Linked DNA regions of Homo sapiens: region 1 is linked to region 2. Evidence: promoter capture Hi-C in human tissues and cell types (Jung and others, 2019). All regions are on one chromosome and are shown on one strand. Each heading gives the region's core, a stretch centred on a gene start or on the middle of the fragment in contact. The rest is flanking DNA. Distances are from core to core; before and after follow the strand shown.

What was found. Contacts are between HindIII fragments. The study calls those that stand out against the background at their distance.
Region 1: a fragment that was not itself captured here is called in contact with the fragment with the promoter of LONRF3 in region 2 in 2 of the 25 tissues and cell types used here (aorta and ovary).

What each region holds. Positions count from the first base shown.
Region 1 is chrX:118,931,091-118,935,211 of GRCh38, forward strand. No RefSeq gene overlaps it. Among named protein-coding and RNA genes, the nearest start is that of LONRF3, 41 kb to the right of the region's middle. The HindIII fragment of the contact is 7,100 bases long and covers 1-4,121 here.
Region 2 is chrX:118,971,627-118,976,094 of GRCh38, forward strand. LONRF3 (LON peptidase N-terminal domain and ring finger 3) reads left to right here and starts at 2,992. Exons shown (of 11, transcript NM_001031855.3): 1 at 2,992-3,971. The coding sequence starts at 3,155. The HindIII fragment of the contact is 6,747 bases long and covers 1-4,468 here.

The DNA of each region.
Region 1 (4,121 bases), core at 186-2,685, 42 kb before region 2:
CCTATATTGCTGAGAATTGTTATCAGCCATAGATATTGGTTTTGTCAAATGATTTTTCTGCATCTATTGAGATGAGCCCATGGCTTTTCTTTGTTAATTTATTAACATGGTCAATTATATTGATTGATTTTCAAATGTAAACCAACCTTGCATTCCTGATATAAACCACACTTACACATGATGTATTATTTTTTTTTTAATTTTTAATTTTTGTGGGTACATAGTAGGTGTATGTATTTATGAGGTACATGAGATGTTTTGATATAGTCATGCAATGTGAAATAAGCACACCATGAAGAATGGGGTATCCATCCCCTCAAGCATTTATCCATTGAGTTGCAAACAATTCAATTACACTCTTTAAGTTATTTTAAAATGTACAGTTATTATTGACTATAGTCACCCTGTTGTGCTATCAAATAGTAGGTCTTAGTTATTCTGTCTACTGTTTTTTTTTGGACCCATTATATTTTTTATATTCTTATATTGCTAGATTCAGTTTGCTAATATTTTGTTTAGAGTTTTTTGTTTCTATGTTCACTAGGGGATATTGGTTTGTAGTTTTATCTGTCTTGCTTCGGTATCATGGTAATGCTGTCCTCATAGAATGAGTTAGGAAATATTCCTTCCTTTCAATTTCCTGGAAGAGTTTGGGTAAAATTGATGTTATTTCAAACCTTAAGTTTTTGGTAGCGATAACTAGTGTAAACATCCAGGTCTGGAGTTACTAAACTGGAGTTTACTAGTGAGAAGCTTTTTAACTACAAATTATATTTCTATGATAGGTTTAGGGGTATTCATTTTTGTGTGTTTGTATGTGTGTGTATGTATCTCTATACATACAGATAGATAGATAGGTAGATAGCTAGATAGAGATATAATCTCCTTTAATGAGCTTTAGTAGTTTATATCTTTCAAGCAATTAGCCCATCCCATCTAAGTCCTCAAATTTATTGCTATAAATGTGTTTATAATATTCCCTTATTAACCTATTTAGTATTTGTAGAATCTGTGTTAATAGTTTTTTTTTTTTTTTTTTTGAGATGGAGTCTTGCACTGTCGCCCAGGCTGGAGTGCAGTGGCGCAATCTCGGCTCACTACAAGCTCCGCCTCCTGGGTTCACGCCATTCTCCTGCCTCAGCCTCCCGAGTAGCTGGGACTACAGGCGCCCACCAGCACGCCTGGCTAATTTTTTGTATTTTTAGTAGAGACGGGGTTTCACCGTGTTGGCCAGGATGGTCTCGATCTCCTGACCTCGTGATCCGCCCACCTCGGCCTCCCAAAGTGCTGGGATTACAGGCATGAGCCACCGTGCCCAGCCCTGTGTTAATATTTTTATCTCATTTATGACATTGGTAATTTGTGTCTTCTCTTTGTCCTGATCCACATAGCCAGAGTTTTATCAATTTTGCTTATTATCCAAGAGAACCAGCTTTTGGTTTCATTAAATTTCTCTAATGATTTTCTGTTTTCTATTTTATTGATTTCTACTTCTTAGTTTTTGCTTAATTTGATCTACTTTTTCAATTTATTAATGTGGAAATGATGTCAATGATCTGAAATCTTTTTTCTTTTCTTACATATGAATATAGTGCTATAAATTTTCCACTATATAGTGCTTTATGGTATCTCATATTTTGATATATTGTATTTCCATTTTCATTCAGTTAAATATGCCTTCCAATTCCACTTTTGATTTTTTCTTGAATTCATGTTTTACTTATAAGTATGCCGTTTAACTTCCACATATTTGAGTATTTTCCAGCTTTCTGTTTTTAGAATATTATTTAATTCCATTGAAATCAGAATACATACTTTGTATGACTTGAATACACGTTTTGCTTTGTGTATTTTGAAGATTTGTCAAGTACACAAACATTTAGGACAGTTATGTACTATTGATGAATTGACCCCTTTATTATTATCATCCTACCGTGATATTTGCTGCTTTGAAATCTACTTGTTTGTCACTAATATAGCCATCTGTCTTTCCTGCATCTGGTGTTAGCATTAATTAACTAGATCTATTAGTTTCTCATGGCTACTATAACAAATTACTGAAATGTTGATGGCTTAAAAAACATTTATTCTCCCACGGTTCCGGAGGTGAGAAGTCTGAAATCAAGGTATAGGTAAGACCACACTTCCATCATAGAGTCTGAGGGAGAATATATTCTTTGCCTCTTCCAGTTTCTGCTGTCTGTCAGTATTCGCTGGCTTGTGGCTACAGCTCTATCTCTTTCTCTGCTCCGTGTTCATATTGCCTTCTCCTCTGTGTTAGTGTAGCTAAATTAGCTCTCTTTCTCTCCTATAAGGATACATGTGATTGCATTTAGGGCCTACCTGGACAAGCTCCTCGCAAAAGCCTTAAGTTAATCACATATTTTGCCACGTAAGGTAATATTTACAGGTTCTGGGGATTAGAACATAGACATATCTTTGGGGCCACCACTGAGTCCACTACACATGGTATATCTTTCTCCATCACTTTATTTTTCACTGGTTTGTGTATTTAAAGTGTGTTTGTTGTGAACAGCATACACTTAGGTCTTGCTTTTTTGCTTTTTTATTATCCAGTCTGATGGTCTTTTTCTTTTTTTTGAGACAGGGTCTTGTTCTGTCCCTCAGGTTGTAGTGCAGTGGCCTGATCATGGCTCACTGTAGCCTCAACCTCCTGGGTTCAAGCTACACAAACACACACACACACACACACACACACACACACACACACATATATTATTGTAGTCTCCCTTTGAGTTATATTATATCATTTCACAAATAATATAAGAAGAGCCTTCCAATAGTATACCTACATTTCCTCTCTCCTGGCCTTTATGCTGTTGTTTGCATATATTTTACTTACACATAAATTATAAAGCCCACAATGCATTGTTACTATTTTTGCTTAGTCAATTATCTTTTAAAGATATTTATGAAATAAGAAAAATATCATATATATTTATTCATGAAGTTTCTGTTTCCAGTGTTCTTTATTGCTTTACTATAGATCCATATTTTCATCTGGGGTCATTTCTTCTGCTGCTCTTCTTCCTGGTCTTTCAGGCCAGGCATGGTGGCTCATGCCTGTAATCCCAGCACTTTGGGAGGCCCACGTGGGTGGATCACCTGAGGTCAGGAGTTCAAGACCAGCCTGGCCTACATGGTGAAACCCCGTCTCTACTAAAAATAAAAAAATTAGCTGGGCGTGGTGGCAGTTGCCTGTAATCCCAGCTACTTGGGAGGCTGAGGCAGGAGAATTGCTTGAACCCAGGAAGCAAAGGTTGCAGCAAGCTGACATTGCACCATTGCATTCCAGCCTGGGCAACAAGAGTGAAACTCCATCTCAAAAAAAAAAAAAAAAAAAGGATGTCTTTCAGCATTTACTACAATTCAGGTCTGTTGGTGATGACTTTTTAAACCTTTTGTATGCTTAAAAAGTCTTTATTTTGGCCAGGCACAGTGGCTCACGCCTGTAATCCCAGCACTTTGGGAGGCCGAGGGGGGCAGATCACGAGGTCAGGAGATTGAGTCCATCCTGGCTAACGTGGTGAAACCCCGTCTCTACCAAAAATACAAAAAATTAGCCAGGCGTGGTGGCGGGCGCCTGTATCCCAGCTTCTCGGGAGGCTGAGGCAGGAGAATGGCGTGAACCTGGGAGGCGGAGCTTGCAGTGAGCCGAGATGGTGCCACTGCACTCCAGCCTGGGTGACAGAGCAAGACTCTGTCTCAAAAAAAAAAAAAAGTCTTTATTTTGGGATGGGCGCAGTGGCTCACGCCTGTAATCCCAACACTTTGTGAGGCCAAGGCGGGTGGATCACGAGGTCAGGAGTTAGAGACCAGCCTGGCCAATATGGTGAAACTCTGTCTCTACTAAAAATACAAAATTAGGCGGGCGTGGTGACATGCACCTGTAGTCCCAGCTACTCGCGAGGCTGAAGCAGAAGAATCACTTGAATCCGGGAGGCGGAGGTTGCAGTGAGCCTAGATCATGCCAGTGTACTCCAGCCTAGGCAACAGAGACTCTGTCTCAAAAAAAAAAAAAAAAAGAAAAAGAAAGAAAGAAAAAAAGTCTTTATTTCACCCTTTAAAAAAATTTACATTGTGGCAAACTACACATAACA
Region 2 (4,468 bases), core at 1,742-4,241:
TAGAAACCCACTTGGTGTTGTCCTACAGGCAGTCTTGATTACAATGTAAAACTCCCTGTGGAGTCTGGTCAGTGAGTAGCTGGTACTGCCATTTACACCAGAGTACCTCGCATTATCCAGACTGCTATTCACATTCCTGACCAAGTTCACGGTCAACCTCCTGCACTGGCAGCCAAGAGGGCCTGCCTGGAGAGAGCTTCTCTTCTCCATGCCTGCAGGACTGTGACTCTCTACCTGACCTGGCCCTCTCTTAGCCTTCCTACCATAACAGGGCAAGGGAGGGGAATCAACCCAGGGGATATTCCCTTGTCAAGGTCATCCACGGAGCAAAGCACATCCCAGATTTGCATCTAGGAAACAATTTTGGGTAACAGACATATATATATATATTTTAGATATGTCAAAGGGGTAAAGCTCTTGAATTAAGATGGTTTCATCATTATCTATCTCATGAATCTCTACCTTCCCCAACGACTGTCCTTCCTCACAGATGCCTGAAGGGGCAGGCAGATAATTAGTGCTGGGGACCTCATTTGATAGTAGGGGAAACTGAGAGGTGAAAAGAGCTCCCTTCAGTTAGATAGCAACTCACCAGGAACTCCAGTTTCTCCCCTACTGCTTGGTATGGCCACCTCCTCCACCTCTTAGCCAGTCCTCCGACTTCTACATCTTAAAAATCTAGCTCAGGGGCCAGGCGCGGTGGCTCACACCTGTAATTCCAGCACTTTGGGAGGCTGAGGCGGGCGGATCACCTGAGGTCAGGAGTTCGAGACCAGCCTGACCAACATGGAGAAACCCCGTCTCTACTAAAAATACAAAAAAATTAGCCAGCTGTGGTGGCACGTGCCTGTAATCCCAGCTACTTGGGAGGCTGAGGCAGGAGAATCACTTGAACCTGGGAGGCGGAGGTTGTGGTGAGCTGAGATCGTTCCATTGCACTCCAGCCTGGGCAACAATAGCCAAACTCCATCTCAAAAAAAAAAAAAAAATCTAGCTCAGGTCTGACCCCGACTAAATGGACAATCTTCCATTGATTTCCCATCCCCTCAACCCCGGTTCAAGCCACCATCCACAGCATTTGGACTAGTCATTTGTACTTAAGTAACTGAGTTAGTATCATGAAATTTGGTCTTAGGATCAAAGCCACTCAAGGTTAGAGCTGGAGGGAACCTTGGAGATTAAGAGAAACTAAGGTTTGGAGAACCTACCTAAGGTTTCATAGCAAATATGTGACAAATCCAAGGCTTCAAGCCAAGTTTTCCAATGTGTCCCTCGTGCTTTCCTGACTACATCTGGAGTTTCTCTATTTCTTCTTCTCCTTCTCCTTCTTCTTCATTTTTTTTTTTTTTCGTGTGTGTGTCTTTTTTCCCCTATGTGATGCTTCCTTTCTGCCCTGTGACCCTCTCCCTCTGTCCTGTCTTATTAGAAAGAGGCTCTAGAGCTGGCTGCATAGTACCTGTTCTCTGGGACCTTGGTGTTGATCTAAGACTGGTTTAACTACCTAAAGAGAAGCAGAGACCCGAGGGGGCCTGCCATAACCCAACTCTGAAACATGACTTAATCCCAAGTAAGATCAGCTCTAACATTTGTTCAGAAGCAAAAATGATGGATTCTAAAGTTTGACTTCCCCAAGGTCATCTGGCTAAGAGGTGGCTGCAGCAGGGGGCAACAATAGGTCTTCAGGCCCCTGGGGCGGCAACCTGGCACTGCCCAAGAGCCCGCAGGCTCTGAAGGCCAACTGAGCCAGCGGCAAGCCTAGTCCCTGCCTCCCTGCTTGGAGCAGTGCGACTATACCGTTTTCTGTCTGCTCATTTGTGAGCTTGGTTCCCGTCCTAAATGTGGGGGTTCAAGGCAGACAAAGAGTGTGCAGTTGGCCACCCCGCTCGCCTTCAGGAAGTGTGTAGGACACCGTCGAGGCCCCCTAGCCATTGTAAACCAGGCGCTGAGGCTCGTGCCCAGTTGTACCCTTCCCGCGCAGCGCTCAGGAGCGACAAACCTGGAGGCTATTCGGTCTGCCACTGGGCTGTGCCGGGATTCGCGGACTTTCTCCTGAATAGCGCTCTCAGCTCGCGTCTTCCCCCTGCCACTCTCCCACGCCCCCAGAGTACCCACCGACCCCAGCAGGCCGGGTACATCCCTGCCGCGCCCATCCGGCCAGTGGCTCCAGGGGCCGGCCTGGTGTGTCTCCAGCTGGGCGCCTACCGCCTGCCCCAGCGCTAGTTCTGGCGTTGGGGGTAGAGAGGTAAAGAGGGGAGTTAGCGGGGCATCTCCCTCCCAGGGCTGAGCCGGCAAGCGCATCTTCTCCGCGAGTTCCTCACTGTCCAGCGAGCGCTGCCCAACTTCTGCGCCGGTGGGACCCGCTGCTCTGAGTCACTCTTGGCACAGAACACCAAGCACCCTCAGAAACCGAATTCACCACCTTTGGGAGGCTCCTGGGAGAAGGCAAGGAACCCAGGCGGGGCTCCCAGGGCTCTCGGGCTGGGACTGGGTTGTGTGTGTGTGGGGGGGCTTCACGGATACCCCTCCCAACCTGCTTCCTTTCCCTGACAGCAGCCATCTCCCCCAAGAGGGAGAGTCTTAGGCGTCCCGGAAGACCCTGCGGACTGTGCACCTCGAGGTACCAGCCTCTCCTGGGAGGAGTGGGGGGCCGCTGGTCAGCGGCTGGCAGAGGGGACCTGTTTGCTGGCCCGTTTGGAGGTGGGATGGAGTGGGGTTTGGAGACTGAGAAGCCCAAGAGAAGACACTGAGTTTCTCCCCACCCCACAACCCCACTTCCGAAAAAGAACCAGGTGGTGAGGAGGAATAAGGCGAAGTGTAAACACAAACAACCTCAAAAAGAAGCCAAGAAAAGCGAAGCCCAAAGAAGCAAGAGCAACACTGTTACAAAACTGTCTGGTTTTGTAACAATTTCCCCGCCGCCGGCCAATGAACAGCGTGGCGGCACGTCACGTGGTACCGTTTTATATAACACTTTGCTGAGACAAGACAGTTATTAGGCGGCGCGGGGCGGCCGGCATGGAGCTCCCGGAGGCGCGGCAGGGTCAGGAGCTCGGTGGCATGGCGGCGGTGGCTGCCCCGATTTCCTCCAGCTGCCACTCCTTGCTTCGTGTCCCCGGTCCCTAGACGCCTCGTCTCCTCCCGTGTCCCTCTTCCCATGGAGTCAGTACGGATCGAACAGATGCTGAGCTTGCCCGCTGAGGTCAGCAGCGACAACTTGGAGTCGGCGGAGCGAGGGGCATCAGCGGCCCAAGTAGACATGGGCCCCCACCCAAAGGTGGCTGCAGAGGGCCCCGCACCTCTACCGACGCGGGAGCCAGAGCAAGAGCAGTCTCCGGGGACCTCAACGCCGGAGAGCAAAGTCCTGCTCACGCAGGCAGACGCCTTGGCGTCCCGGGGGCGAATCCGTGAAGCCCTCGAGGTGTATAGACAGCTCTCCGAGCGGCAGCAGCTGGTGGCTGAGCAGCTGGAGCAGCTGGTGCGCTGCCTGGCGGAGAAAGTCCCGCAAGGCGAGGCGCTGGCGCCGGCGCCCCCGGACGAGGGTAGCACTGCAAGCGGCACCGTGGCGGCGGAAGAGACGGGGGCCGCCGCGGCTGCGGCGGCCACCGAGGTGTGGGACGGCTTTAAGTGCCGGAAATGTCATGGGTTTCTATCAGACCCCGTGTCCTTGTCGTGTGGCCACACCTTTTGTAAACTGTGCCTGGAACGTGGGCGGGCCGCCGACCGGCGCTGTGCGCTGTGCGGGGTCAAGCTCTCCGCCTTGATGGTGGCCACTGGGCGGGCGCGTGGAGCCCGGCGGGCTGGGCAGCAGCCGCCGCCGCCGCTGCGAGTCAACGTGGTGCTCAGCGGCCTCCTCGGCAAGTTGTTTCCAGGCCCAGCGCGAGCGTCGCAACTCCGGCACGAGGGCAACCGACTGTACCGCGAGCGCCAGGTGGAGGCGGCACTGCTCAAGTACAACGAGGCAGTTAAGTTGGGTGAGTCCAACGCGCTGCCGGGCCGGGGCTGGGGCTCGGTGGCTACATGAGGGAGCGGGAGAACAAACCCCGCAGCGAGAAGGGATTTGGACCAGGGCAGAAGAGGGGGCGGGGGACCCATGGACTGTGGCGGGGTGGGGGAGGGGTGATTCTGGGGCTGGGTCTCTGAGTTTGTTCTGTTTTCACTGCTTATCTGTGTTTCACTGTGTTTGTGTTGATCTCGGTTGCTTTTTGTCTTTTCCTGCTACTTCTGTTAGCTTTTGTGTTCCTGTCTCTCAGTCCCCGTTCCTGTCTGTGTCTCCTTGCTTCTGGTTCTTTTTCTCCGTCTCTTCGTATCTTTGTCACTGTTTCTTTCTTTTTCGGTGTCACTGTCTCTGTTCCTCTGACTCTCCTTCTCCCGCTGCACTCCTGGTCTCCTCTTACACCTGCTCGCACCTTCCCAGCGAGGAGAGGAACTTCGCGCGCTCCTCGCACTTGCGCCCGGTCCTCTGGGCTGT